Regions from separate parts of the Homo sapiens genome. Here all the other regions are linked to region 1. The links are contacts of gene promoters, found by promoter capture Hi-C in blood cells and fetal thymus (Javierre and others, 2016). All regions are on one chromosome and are shown on one strand. The core of a region is centred on a gene start or on the middle of the fragment in contact, and the rest is flanking DNA. Distances in the headings are between cores, read along the strand shown. Region 1 holds the start of PPP1R1B (protein phosphatase 1 regulatory inhibitor subunit 1B). Region 2 holds the start of MED24 (mediator complex subunit 24). Region 3 holds the start of CACNB1 (calcium voltage-gated channel auxiliary subunit beta 1). Region 4 holds the start of CSF3 (colony stimulating factor 3). Region 5 holds the start of ORMDL3 (ORMDL sphingolipid biosynthesis regulator 3).

Region 1 (2,505 bases), core at 4-2,503:
GGAGTGGAAAAGCTGCAGGAGGATTGGGGGTTTCAGGCCTGAGAGTGACCAGGAGAGAGGACGCCAACACAAACAGAGCCCCAGGAAAACATGCATGTACACGTCTACACACACCCTCTCAGTGCTAGACAGAAGCATTCAGACCCTCTGCACAGCTCCAAGGAGGGAAACAGCAGCTCCTGCAAAGGCACCCAAGGCCCGGACAAATAGACCAAATAGACAGGGACATTCCACCCACAGGGCCAGCTCCTCCCGCTCCCGCTCCAGAGACACACACAAATACCTCTGGAGAGAGAGAGGCTCACACCTGTCTCCCCCAACCCTGCTTCTGAATGCACCAAATTCATGCACGTGATGGCACGTGTACAGGCAGCCCCCAAACCCACCCCAACTCTGGGCCGGCCCTGTCCTCCCCACCCCATTAGATCCGGAGAGGAAAGACAGGAGCCACGTGAATCTACAGTACATCATGGCAGGGCACATTCCCCTTCTCCCTCACAGGAGCGCTCACACATCCACAACCTCATACCCCAGCAACTGCACAGCGGAGCTGTGGATACAGTCCCCCACCCCCTGCAAGCTGGCACACGCCTGCCCATCACCTTGACAGCCTCTGACATCCTCCCCCACACCCACACCCTCCCCCGCACACACGCAGTCCTCCCACACCCTGCCACTCACACCTGCATCTTTGACACTCTGACACACTTACACAGACACACTCACACCACACCGGACCCCCCAAAACACACTCCCTGGCTATGGGCACCACAGGGCCCCGGCACACCCCTGCACACTCTCCCTGCCACGATGACTGACACGTGTCCTCCCACACACAACTCGGTCACACTCGCTCCCTTTCCAGGACACCCCCATTCACAGCGTGACAGGCTGGTACTCTCCCCACGACCTCGCAGGCCTCTCTGAAACTCCCAGTACCAGGACCACGAAGGGGTTAAAGCCAGAGTCCTGCCTCCCCGCTGCCCCTCTCCCCCTCCCTCCCCCTTTATCCTCTCTGCTGGACTCCATCAATAATGCAGCTTCAAGTTCTGGGGAGACCGCAGGGGGCCCCCCAGCTGGCTCCCCAGGCCTTGGCTCTAACTCCCACCCTCCTCCCAGCCCCAGGAGAACACGATTCTCCATGCTCATTGGCCAGTTTCCCCTAAACCCTCCCTCCGAGCACCCGGGCGCCAGTCCCAGGCGGAGGGGACGGGCTGGGGACCCCAAAGCTGGGACCGGAGGGTGAGCCCGGCAGAGGCAGAGACACACGCGGAGAGGAGGAGAGGCTGAGGGAGGGAGGTGGAGAAGGACGGGAGAGGCAGAGAGAGGAGACACGCAGAGACACTCAGGAGGGGAGAGACACCGAGACGCAGAGACACTCAGGAGGGGAGAGACACCGAGACGCAGAGACACCCAGGCCGGGGAGCGCGAGGGAGCGAGGCACAGACCTGGCTCAGCGAGCGCGGGGGGCGAGCCCCGAGTCCCGAGAGCCTGGGGGCGCGCCCAGCCCGGGCGCCGACCCTCCTCCCGCTCCCGCGCCCTCCCCTCGGCGGGCACGGTATTTTTATCCGTGCGCGAACAGCCCTCCTCCTCCTCTCGCCGCACAGCCCGCCGCCTGCGCGGGGGAGCCCAGCACAGACCGCCGCCGGGACCCCGAGTCGCGCACCCCAGCCCCACCGCCCACCCCGCGCGCCATGGACCCCAAGGACCGCAAGAAGATCCAGTTCTCGGTGCCCGCGCCCCCTAGCCAGCTCGACCCCCGCCAGGTGGAGATGGTAAGGGGCCCGTGCCCCACCCCGGCAGCGTACCCGACACACCCCGCGGGGCTTCTTCGCCCTCCCAAGGCGCTGCCCCGGCCGGACTGGCCTGGGGGTGGGGGCGCAAGGAGAGCCGGGCTCTGCCTCGGTCAGGACGGGGCGCGGGGCCGCGTGTGAAGTTAGCTGGAGACTCGTGCAACTTTTCCCCGCGGCTTTGGTCCTGATCCCGGGGCAAGAGAGTTCCTGGCAGTGAGGCTGGGGGTGCGGGGGTGGGGGGACAGGCCGATTCCAGACCGCCCAGGAGTGGGGTGGGGGCGTCCTTTGGTCCCAGCACAGTCCCCAAAGGGTAGTCAGTCTCCTAGGCTACCACCGGGACCGCTCCGCCTGGCTCTGTCCCAGAGCTGGTCAGATGTGAGCAGCGGTGGACACTGACCTTGTCACCCAGGGCAGGAGTATGAGGCTGCCACCGGGTGAATCCACTACCCTGCCCCTCTCTAATCCCGCGTGTGTGCCTGGGCTGGGGTCTCCAGAACCTGGCTCTGGCCTCCTGCTGTCAGGCCCCAGAGCCCCAACCCCAAGGAGGGAGAGGTGGGGAGTCATCACAAAGCCAGACCTCTTCCCACAGACTACTGAGTCCTCCTGAGGGCCTTCTTGGGGGTTGAGGGGCTTCCAAAGGCTGGCGGGTGCTGTGACAGAGAGCTCCACTTCCCATCCCTAGTGGAGCAGGGGTCACTTGTTGCTGAGCTGA
Region 2 (2,505 bases), core at 3-2,502, 430 kb after region 1:
AACTCCTGGGCTCAAGCAATCCGCCTGCCTCAGCCTCCCACAATGCTGGGATTACAGCCATGAACCACCGGGGCCCAAATGCACTCCAAGTTTTTTACCCCCAGAACTCTCACTTCTTGGTGGGGGTTTGCGGGAAGCTTACCTGGGAACTAATGGCATACTTCAGGTAGGACAAGATGAGAGGATTGGGGGATGGTCCAATCATGGCCTGCTCTAGTAACGCATCTGCAAGAGGAATAGCAAAACACAACTGAGTGATTACAACTTCTCTGGGTTTATCCCTCCCATCTTTCTTTCCCAGTTCACTTGAGACCTGCCAGGTTGAGAATATCCCAGGTGGCTCCTTTAGGAAAGAATTTCTTCATGTTGATTGCCCATTGGTAGTCACTCCAGCGCTCCTTCCAGGCTTGCAAAATGGCTTGCTTCAGGTTGACCACCTTCATTATTTCACTCTGAGCAGGTGGCAGCGGTGGCGGCCAGCTTTGAGGTGAAAGAAATGGAGCTAAAGAAAAGGACATGAGGTTCTAAGGAGAACCGGGGAAGGCAGAATTAAATAGAAAGGAGAAGATGCGGGAAGATTTAAGCGAGACAGAGGAATTTGAAAGAAAAAGAGCTAAAGGGATAAAGTAAGATCCTGTCAGACTCTCTCCTCCTGAACCGCCCTTCCTTAAACTGGGGCACTAAGAAAGTATCGGCCGAGCGCAGTGGCTCGCACCTGTAATCCCAGCACTTCGGGAGGCAGAGGCGGGCGAATCACCGGAGGTCAGGAGTTCGAGACTAGCCTGACCAACATGGAGAAACCTCGTCTCCACTAAAAATACAAAATTAGCCGGGCTTGGTGGTGCATGCCTGTAATCCCAGCTACTCGGGAGGCTGAGGCAGTAGAATCGCTTGAACCCGGGAGGCGGAGGTTGTTGGGGTGAGCCGAGATCGCACCATTGCACTCCAGCCTGGGCAACAAGAGCAAAACTCCGTCTCTCAAATAAATGAATAAAGAAGTATCAAAGGGACTAATAGATTAAACAGGGCATCAAGGAGTTAAGGCAGTCCTGGTTGCCTAATTACGCCCTTAGCTCTAAAAGCGTCCCTTGGCCACCACCATTCCAAGTCCAGATTTGCTCCCTCATTTCCTCCACCTTCTCCAGCCCTGTAACTATACCTCCCAATTTCCTTTTCATCCACCACCTCCCCAAATTTAAGCCTACCGCACAATCCAGTTCTAGGTGGTAGGCATCGCCATTTTGGCACTTGTCAAGAAGCTCACTTTCTATTGGCTGGGAGTAACAAACGCCAACCAATAGAAATGCAGCAAGGAACGCCCCGCTGTCTTCTGGGAATGGTAGTTCCTTGGACTGAAACCGTATTTGTCTGCGCCGGCGAGGAAACTAAGGGACTCGTCTAGTCGGCCCGCATTGTTCTTCTCCTTTAAGGGAGGACATCCAGGAGCTGAGGCACTACAGAGACTCAGGGACTCGAGGGAGCTCGAAAGGCCGCTCACAACCCGGCGTCGCCCACGACGTCACTGTCGACCGGGCTTCTCCATCATATTCCGACACCCTTTCATTCGTTAGCCCCTAGTTAGTAGGTGCGGCAAGGGTGTGGCGTGGGGGCAAGGGTGTGGCGTTCAGCAATAAGGTCTTTCTCCTTTCCTGGGCTCTTTCTGTTCTCCTAAGCCCCTGGAGCTACCAGAGCTATTCTCATTTCCACAACTATATTCTAAAAGCGACACCGAGGTGCCTTAGTTGCACACATATCACCGTCCCCGAATCTTACAGTCCTATCAGAATCTCCAGGCCCTCCATACAGCTTGGATACAAGGGAAAGTAAAGAGGAAACTAAGGTGAAGGTGATCAAAATCAAAGGAATTCTGAGAAACTGTCACAACTAAGAGGGCTAAGGAGACCTGATGACTAAATGTAATGTGGTTTTCTGAATGCGATCATGGAAGAGAAAAAGAATACTGGGTAAAAACTAAGGAAATCTAAATAAAGGGTGGACTTTAATTAATAATAATGTATCAATATTAGTTCATTAGTTGTTACAAATGCATAATACTAATGCTAAGATGTTAATAAAAAGAGAAATTGGGTGCAGAATATGTGGGGACCCTCTATTACCTTCCATTTTTTTCCTGTAAATTAAAAACTTGTTTTTTTAAGTTTCTTGTTGTTGTTGTTGTTGTTGTTGTTTAAATCTTGCTTATCCCAAAGATCCATATATAAATTATGCCCAGGGCTTTGGCCATAGCCTTTCCTTCCCCCAGTGAGAAACCCGAAAGCAAATGTTACCCACCTCTGGAGGCTCCAATGTCTGAGCCTTCTTATGCATAGCCCTCATCCCTCCCCATGCTATGGACTGGTCATCCCTAACATTTACAACCAGGAATAAGAGTAAATTACTCGGGAGGCTGAGAAAGGAGGATCACTTGAGCTCGGGAGTTCAAATCCAGCCTGGGCAACATAATGAGACTCTCAGCTCTACCAAAATACATAAATAAATAAACAT
Region 3 (2,505 bases), core at 4-2,503, 430 kb before region 1:
GCCTCCCAGGCTCAAAGGGGCCTGGGGTGGAGGAAGGTATTTTTAGGTCTGACTTGACCCCTCTACATACCCATCAGTCACATTATCATGGTGGTTACAGCTGGTGGCCACAGTAACAGAAGAGTTAATGCTATCCTTGGAGAAGGACACTCCCAAAGAAATCCCCTGGCGCGACCATCCCAGAGCCTGCTGGTCACCCCATGAGAACCCACCGCGCCCAAGAATGCCACTTCCTGGGAGTAACCAGGGGTGTAGGAAAAGTGTGCGGGTGGGGATGGAGAAGTAGACCCCTCCCCCAGGTAAAACAGCTTCCCCCCCTCCTATGAGTTGGCATCCATCCAACTTTCCAAACTTTGGAGGCGTTTTTGGGGCGGGGGTGGGGGTGGGGTAAGTCAACGTGGGTGTGGGGGGAGGGGAGCAGGTCCGACATAGAGATGGAGCCCAGGTGGCTGGGAGGGGACCTCGACCGGGGTTGGCTCTTTCCCCACCCTCGAGAACCAGTGTCTGCGGCTTTGAAGGCCTGTTGGCATTTGGCACCGCCCTCTGACCATCGCCTCGGCCACCTCCTCGTGCCACCCCCGCCCCACCCACACCCGCCTGGCGCCCCCGAGCGTGCTCTGCGTCGCCCCCCTTGCCTGGCTCGCTTTCTAGCCTCTTTCAACCTCCCCTTCTCAAGGCCCAGATCCCCCTCCACCAGCACCCCCACGCTCAGCCCACTGAAGCTGGTGCCCAAGCGGCAGGAACCTTGACGCGGGGGAGATAAGGAGGCGAGGGTGACAGGCAGCCCACCCGCCCCCTCCCCGCTCCGCAGCATCGCCACCCAGCCCCAGGCCCAGCGCCCATCAATCACAACCTGCAAGGATGGGGGGCGCGCAGGCATCCCTCTCTCCTCCGCGCCCGGCATATAACCCCTTCCTCTCCCGCGCCTCTCGAGCCGACCTTAACACGGTCCGCGGGAGCGACCCCCTCCCGTTGGGCCGGGCCACCACGCCTCACCTGCGGGCTGGGGTCGAAGACCTCCATGGGGATCTCCTGGGAGGGTGGGTAAGGGCCCCGGGACATGCTGGTCTTCTGGACCATGGAGAGGAGCCTCCCCTCCCGCCGCCGGCCCGGCCCAGCCGGGCTCCCTCAGCGCATGGGAGAGGCCGTGGGAGCCGAAAGCAGCGCGGCGCAGCCAGCACCCGGTCCAGCCACCCAGCTCGGCCTTCGGCTGCCTCCTTCCTGCCTTCCCTCGCTCCTCCCGCTCTCTCCACTGCCGCCGCCGCCTCCCCCGTAGGCTCAGCATCTCCCCGCGCCCCTCCCTCGCTCCCTCCCTCCGCCCGCCCGGCCCCGCCCCTCGCAGCCCCTCCGCCGGCTCGGCGCACACAATGGGCGTGCGGCAGCAGGGAGGCAAGCCCCTCTCGGCTCTAGGTGGCCGCAGGTGGGCCTCTGACTGGCCGTGGGGTGCAGGCGGCCCGCTGGGGCGGGAAGGCAGAAACTAGGCGTGGAACTTGGGGGAGGGGTGGGGGGGCGGTCTACCAGTGGATGCCGAGCGCTGATGGGGATTGGCATGGCTGGCACCACCCCCCTTTTGTCCCAAACCTCTCTTCCTGCGGGTCCCCCCAACCCACTCCTGTTTGGACCACCGGAACTTCCCGGTCCCGGTGATCCTGGGACCTGGCTTTAACTCCTTTCTCCCCAGTGTGGGGCCCAGGCTGCCTCAAACCAAACAGAAAAGCCTCTCCCTCCAACATGGCTCTGGGGCTGCCGGTGGGAGGCTGAGGCTGAGATGGGGAGGGTGTCCAATAGAGACAGCAAAATAAATCCCAGGGGTCCAGGAGTTCTGCCCTAATCAGTCACTAGGATACACCGCCCCCCCAACCCCTGTTCTTCCAAAAGGCCAGGAATGGGGCTGGGTGAGGTCCCTGCTCTTGGATGAGAAAAGAGGAAGAAATATGGAGCTGAGAGAGGAGAAGCTGGTAAAATCAGATCTCATGACCTTTGACCTAGAATTGCGCCACCTTTACCCCTGATTTAGGGAGAAACATCCAAGATCTGGATGCCACCCACCATGACTGGTGGAGAGAAGAGGAATAGGAGATTCTGGGCAATAGACTCTGGCGCCAATTTGGCTCAGGCTGTTTCTGGTTGTATAGCCCCGGACAAATCACCTCTCTGAGCATCAGTTTCCTCCTCTCCTATAAAATGGGGTTGCTGGTACTGTGGAGTCTGTGTCACCTGGTATTATTGGGAGGATGAGGGAGAATTAAATGAATTGCTGGGGTGTTTGGAGAAGCTGTAAGTTTCAATGAAGGGGTCACTCATGACAGGAGGACCCATTCCCTTCCTACTCCACCCCTTCTCCTGCTCCACAGAAAGGAGAGATGGAGAAGACCCTCTCCAGGTCAAGTGACCTTACAATAAGGCCACCACCTTGCTGTGTTCCGCAGGACAGGAGACTATGGGACTCCTCCTCCTCACCCAACTCTAATAGCAAGTGAATGGTCAGTCTGTCATTCCTCTGAT
Region 4 (2,505 bases), core at 3-2,502, 390 kb after region 1:
CCCGTCTCTACTAAAAATACAAAAAATTGGCCGGGCATGGTGGCGGGCACCTGTAGTTCCAGCTACTCGGGAGGCTGAGGCAGGAGAATGGCGTGAACCCGAGAGGCAGAGTTTGCAGTGAGCCGAGATCGCGCCACTGCACTCCAGCCTGGGCGACAGAGCAAGACTCCATCTGGAAAAGAAAAAGAAAACGTTCAGGTCTGAGCCAGAGGCCCAGGCTGTAATTCTGTCACTTACCATGACCTTGGGCAAGGCACTTCCTTCCCTGGCCCAGTTCACGGGGTTGGAATCGACTCCAAGGTCCCTTCCAGCATTAACGCTGCATGGTTCTAAGATGAGAAGATGGGGCAGTTTCCCCTCTCTCACCCCAGCCCGTGTCCACTTCAAGGTGAATGACCAGGGAAGTCACGTGTCCCAATCCCGCAGTTCCAAAGCCCTTGGGGACCCTACTGTCAGGGTCGTGCACGAGGAGGTGAAGGTCAGGTGAGCCAATCGCCTCGAAGGGTCTTGCCTCATTCGGGACAGACATCCGGTTTCCTCTGGCTCTACCGGGATTCTAGGGGCTTTAGCCGAATGAGTCATGGGGGGCGGGGGGGTTTCTGGGGGAGTTCCCAGCTAATCAACTTGGGACAGGACAGCCTGGAACTTTCGATGGTGCCTATCCAAGTGTGGGGTGGGCACAGCAGCCAAGACCCAATGTCCTTATCTCAGGTAGGGGCTCAGGAGGTCTCCCAGACAGGCAGCCTCCGGAGAGTTTGGGGGTAGGAATGGGAGCAACCAGCTTCTTTTTTTCTCTCTTAGAATTTGGGGGCTTGGGGGACAGGCTTGAGAATCCCAAAGGAGAGGGGCAAAGGACACTGCCCCCGCAAGTCTGCCAGAGCAGAGAGGGAGACCCCGACTCAGCTGCCACTTCCCCACAGGCTGCTGCCGCTTCCAGGCGTCTATCAGCGGCTCAGCCTTTGTTCAGCTGTTCTGTTCAAACACTCTGGGGCCATTCAGGCCTGGGTGGGGCAGCGGGAGGAAGGGAGTTTGAGGGGGGCAAGGCGACGTCAAAGGAGGATCAGAGATTCCACAATTTCACAAAACTTTCGCAAACAGCTTTTTGTTCCAACCCCCCTGCATTGTCTTGGACACCAAATTTGCATAAATCCTGGGAAGTTATTACTAAGCCTTAGTCGTGGCCCCAGGTAATTTCCTCCCAGGCCTCCATGGGGTTATGTATAAAGGCCCCCCTAGAGCTGGGCCCCAAAACAGCCCGGAGCCTGCAGCCCAGCCCCACCCAGACCCATGGCTGGACCTGCCACCCAGAGCCCCATGAAGCTGATGGGTGAGTGTCTTGGCCCAGGATGGGAGAGCCGCCTGCCCTGGCATGGGAGGGAGGCTGGTGTGACAGAGGGGCTGGGGATCCCCGTTCTGGGAATGGGGATTAAAGGCACCCAGTGTCCCCGAGAGGGCCTCAGGTGGTAGGGAACAGCATGTCTCCTGAGCCCGCTCTGTCCCCAGCCCTGCAGCTGCTGCTGTGGCACAGTGCACTCTGGACAGTGCAGGAAGCCACCCCCCTGGGCCCTGCCAGCTCCCTGCCCCAGAGCTTCCTGCTCAAGTGCTTAGAGCAAGTGAGGAAGATCCAGGGCGATGGCGCAGCGCTCCAGGAGAAGCTGGTGAGTGAGGTGGGTGAGAGGGCTGTGGAGGGAAGCCCGGTGGGGAGAGCTAAGGGGGATGGAACTGCAGGGCCAACATCCTCTGGAAGGGACGTGGGAGAATATTAGGAGCAGTGGAGCTGGGGAAGGCTGGGAAGGGACTTGGGGAGGAGGACCTTGGTGGGGACAGTGCTCGGGAGGGCTGGCTGGGATGGGAGTGGAGGCATTACATTCAGGAGAAAGGGCAAGGGCCCCTGTGAGATCAGAGAGTGGGGGTGCAGGGCAGAGAGGAACTGAACAGCCTGGCAGGACATGGAGGGAGGGGAAAGACCAGAGAGTCGGGGAGGACCCGGGAAGGAGCGGCGACCCGGCCATGGCGAGTCTCACTCAGCATCCTTCCATCCCCAGTGTGCCACCTACAAGCTGTGCCACCCCGAGGAGCTGGTGCTGCTCGGACACTCTCTGGGCATCCCCTGGGCTCCCCTGAGCAGCTGCCCCAGCCAGGCCCTGCAGCTGGTGAGTGTCAGGAAAGGATAAGGCTAATGAGGAGGGGGAAGGAGAGGAGGAACACCCATGGGCTCCCCCATGTCTCCAGGTTCCAAGCTGGGGGCCTGACGTATCTCAGGCAGCACCCCCTAACTCTTCCGCTCTGTCTCACAGGCAGGCTGCTTGAGCCAACTCCATAGCGGCCTTTTCCTCTACCAGGGGCTCCTGCAGGCCCTGGAAGGGATCTCCCCCGAGTTGGGTCCCACCTTGGACACACTGCAGCTGGACGTCGCCGACTTTGCCACCACCATCTGGCAGCAGGTGAGCCTTGTTGGGCAGGGTGGCCAAGGTCGTGCTGGCATTCTGGGCACCACAGCCAGGC
Region 5 (2,505 bases), core at 1-2,500, 300 kb after region 1:
GAGATCAATAAACTAACAAAAAGACTGGCAATGAGGAAACACTCTTGAGACTTTCGTGTGACTATGGATACATATCACTTCCATTAGTAAAACAACCAACTGGCCCCTACCCTAGATGGGGAGAAACAGAGAGAAGAGGCTGGCAGAGGTCGACTAGGTCTACAGGAGTTGAGCCGAAAACTTCTGCTGCCATAGCTGGCAGGTGGCTGCTTAGTGCTGGGCCCTGATGTGGTTTCATAACCTGCCTCAAACCAGAGCCTGCAGCAACTCTGTTGTGTTAACCACTTTTTTGCTGGTAGCTCTTTCCCCCTCCTTCCCGCCCCACCCTCTTGGCTCCACATACAAATATCCGGGCCCAGCCAGTATGCCAGACACTCAAGCCAAGGCTGAGCACCACCAGGGCAGCCACCAGGTGAGCCCTTCCCATTCCCTCCCCCAGGAAAGAGCAGCCCTCACAACAGCAAACCTCCTGTCTTCTGGAAGAGGAGCACAAAACATCCAGGCCTGGATGGGGACCCCAACGGGGAGTCCGGGGCAGCACGTCACAATGCCATGTCCATTCCGCCCACCCCCCAAGCTGCAGGACCACAGCTGATAACCTCTCAACTTTGGCCCAGCCACCCCGACTGGGGGAGGGCGGTAGGAGCGGAAAGCGAGTGCCCAGGCGAACCCGCACTAAGCACAGGAGAGGAGGAGCGAAGAGGCGGAGTCCTCACTGTTGTTGGGGTTTTCTGAGTGAGACCTCGGGTGCGGGGCCGGGGGGAGGGGTCCCGCTCTGTTCCCCAGCCTGGGTCTTCGCACTCGGAACCCGGTCCGGTCCGGGACCCCACAGCCATCTCCACGCGTTCACCCAGCCCTGGAGGCAGCCAAACGTTTATCCCCGAAGCCGAGCCGCTCCCCGCCTCCCACCCCTAGCCGAGGCGCTCCTCCCGACGTTCCACCCCCGGCCTCCCGCTCGCACTTTATTCCTTGGCCACCTCCCCAGCCGATGCACCCCCTCGGCTGATGCACTCCCTCCACCCCCCACTCCCTCTGCCCCCGTCTCTCCAGCCCGGGGCGCCTCCCCAGCAGCCCCCACCTTCTCTCCCGCCCCTCCCGTAGCCCTGGGGCCTCTTGGTTCCTTCCGGGCTCACCGTGTGGGGCCGAAGATCAACGGCCCGGGAACGGTTCCCGGGAGCGGGGGCCGCTGCTGCTCCAGCAGCTGTAACAACCCGCGGCTGCAGCCTCCCCGCTGGCAGCTCCGGCCGAATCAGCGCTCCGCGCCGGTCCCCGTACGTCACCGCCCCGCGCCGGCACGCCCGACGCCTTCTGGGAGTTGTAGTTTCTTCCGCTGGCTCCGGGCCGGCCCTCCCGACGCCTCCTGGGAGTTGTAGTTTTTCCTGGGCTCCGTTCCCGGCCTCTTCGGGGACGCACGGTTGGAAGTTGTACCGTGACGTGATGGTCAGATCGGATGATAGAATTTTGGTGCGTAACAATTCCAACTTTTGCTTCTGTGCCCTTCAAGTGTATTTTATCCGTGCCCCAGTTTTGCAGATGAGGAGACTCGGACTTGTAAGTAACTTTCTGTAGGTCTTTGCTGGGTCCTAGACTGGATCGAAACCCAAATATTCTGACCCCAACTGCAGGATTTTTCCACTGCACCTGGCTGCCTCCGCCCTGGCCCCAGATTGGCTCCTCCAGAAACAGACTAGCCCGGCCCTTTGCCCTGCTGGGCCCTCCTGGGAGAGCGCTTTTCACAACATTGGCTGGGATGAGGGTCTGGAGGGCCCGGAACGGAGCCTGCCTTCTCCTTCTCAGTCACGCTTGGCCCAGGCTGCCCCGGACCGGGCCACATCCTTGGCCGCCCCGCACCTGACGTGAGAAGAGGCTACGTATCATAGATTCCTCCATCAGTAGTAAGGAGCCTGAGTTTCTGTCTCAGGTCAGCTTGTGTGGCTTTGAATGAGAGGCTCTGGTCTGCAGTTTTCACATCTGCATCGTCTAAAGGCAAGGGCACAGACTTTACTGCCTGGTAGACATGGGGTAGGCCCTCCTTTATTGGCAGTGTGACCCTGGGCAAATTACTTGTCTTAATCTCCAATTCCACACCTGTGAAACCCCACCTCCAAGGTTGTGGGAACCCAAAAGAATGTATGTAAAGCACCTGTTGCATTGTAGGAATCTACTTAATATTACTGTAGGAGGTTGAACTAAATGGCTCTTGAGGTCTCCTCGGTTACTCCCATTCTCCATGTCACCAAGAGGTCTTGTCTGGGTAGTTTCAACTCCTTACCCAGCTTCTTTCTAAGTCCACTCTATGCAGGGCAGGGCTGGAATAGCAAGGTCAGATGATGTCATGGCATGCCAACCTGACTCTGAATGGCAGTTCATGGCACCCTGAACTGAAAGTGAGGGAACAGGAAGGAAAAGGCTAGCCCAGGGAAACTGCGGAGCACTTTACTCGGACTACACCTACCTTTCCTTCCCCAGGGGGCTGCCAGGAAACAGTTGTCACACAGCTGGAGT

Evidence for each region. The method cuts DNA at HindIII sites, captures the fragments that hold promoters and counts their contacts. A CHiCAGO score of 5 or more calls a contact.
Region 2: a contact is called between the fragment with the promoter of MED24 here and the fragment with the promoter of PPP1R1B in region 1, in 11 of 17 cell types (fetal thymus, total CD4 T cells, naive CD8 T cells and 8 more). The highest score is 18.7, in fetal thymus.
Region 3: the fragment with the promoter of CACNB1 here is called in contact with the fragment with the promoter of PPP1R1B in region 1 in 4 of 17 cell types (naive CD8 T cells, total B cells, neutrophils and 1 more); the score reaches 7.2 in naive CD8 T cells.
Region 4: a contact is called between the fragment with the promoter of CSF3 here and the fragment with the promoter of PPP1R1B in region 1, in 5 of 17 cell types (naive CD8 T cells, fetal thymus, total B cells and 2 more). The highest score is 8.8, in naive CD8 T cells.
Region 5: a contact is called between the fragment with the promoter of ORMDL3 here and the fragment with the promoter of PPP1R1B in region 1, in 14 of 17 cell types (activated CD4 T cells, naive CD8 T cells, total CD4 T cells and 11 more). The highest score is 15.6, in activated CD4 T cells.

Annotation. Positions count from the first base shown.
Region 1 is chr17:39,625,699-39,628,203 of GRCh38, forward strand. It overlaps PPP1R1B (protein phosphatase 1 regulatory inhibitor subunit 1B), which reads left to right and starts at 1,254. Exons shown (of 7, transcript NM_032192.4): 1 at 1,254-1,775. The coding sequence starts at 1,695. The HindIII fragment of the contact is 16,288 bases long and covers 1-2,505 here.
Region 2 is chr17:40,053,156-40,055,660 of GRCh38, forward strand. It overlaps MED24 (mediator complex subunit 24), which reads right to left and starts at 1,253. Exons shown (of 26, transcript NM_014815.4): 1 at 1,206-1,253; 2 at 314-480; 3 at 143-225. The coding sequence starts at 443. RefSeq lists an enhancer at 1,453-1,512. The HindIII fragment of the contact is 3,100 bases long and covers 136-2,505 here.
Region 3 is chr17:39,196,416-39,198,920 of GRCh38, forward strand. CACNB1 (calcium voltage-gated channel auxiliary subunit beta 1) reads right to left here and starts at 1,254. Exons shown (of 14, transcript NM_000723.5): 1 at 997-1,254. The coding sequence starts at 1,080. RefSeq lists silencers at 452-581, 1,012-1,411, 1,422-1,551. The HindIII fragment of the contact is 8,246 bases long and covers 1-2,505 here.
Region 4 is chr17:40,014,188-40,016,692 of GRCh38, forward strand. CSF3 (colony stimulating factor 3) reads left to right here and starts at 1,253. Exons shown (of 5, transcript NM_172219.3): 1 at 1,253-1,327; 2 at 1,504-1,658; 3 at 2,046-2,153; 4 at 2,298-2,444. The coding sequence starts at 1,288. PSMD3-AS1 (PSMD3 antisense RNA 1) reads right to left here and starts at 454. Exons shown (of 3, transcript NR_198981.1): 1 at 367-454; 2 at 51-172. RefSeq lists an enhancer at 1,163-1,662. The HindIII fragment of the contact is 16,036 bases long and covers 1-2,505 here.
Region 5 is chr17:39,926,351-39,928,855 of GRCh38, forward strand. ORMDL3 (ORMDL sphingolipid biosynthesis regulator 3) reads right to left here and starts at 1,251. Exons shown (of 4, transcript NM_139280.4): 1 at 1,134-1,251. It overlaps LRRC3C (leucine rich repeat containing 3C), which reads left to right and starts at 1,382. Exons shown (of 4, transcript NM_001195545.2): 1 at 1,382-1,464. It overlaps LOC124903999 (a long non-coding RNA gene), which reads left to right and starts at 370. Exons shown (of 2, transcript XR_007065750.1): 1 at 370-412; 2 at 578-652. RefSeq lists enhancers at 505-1,115, 1,116-1,727. The HindIII fragment of the contact is 24,326 bases long and covers 1-2,505 here.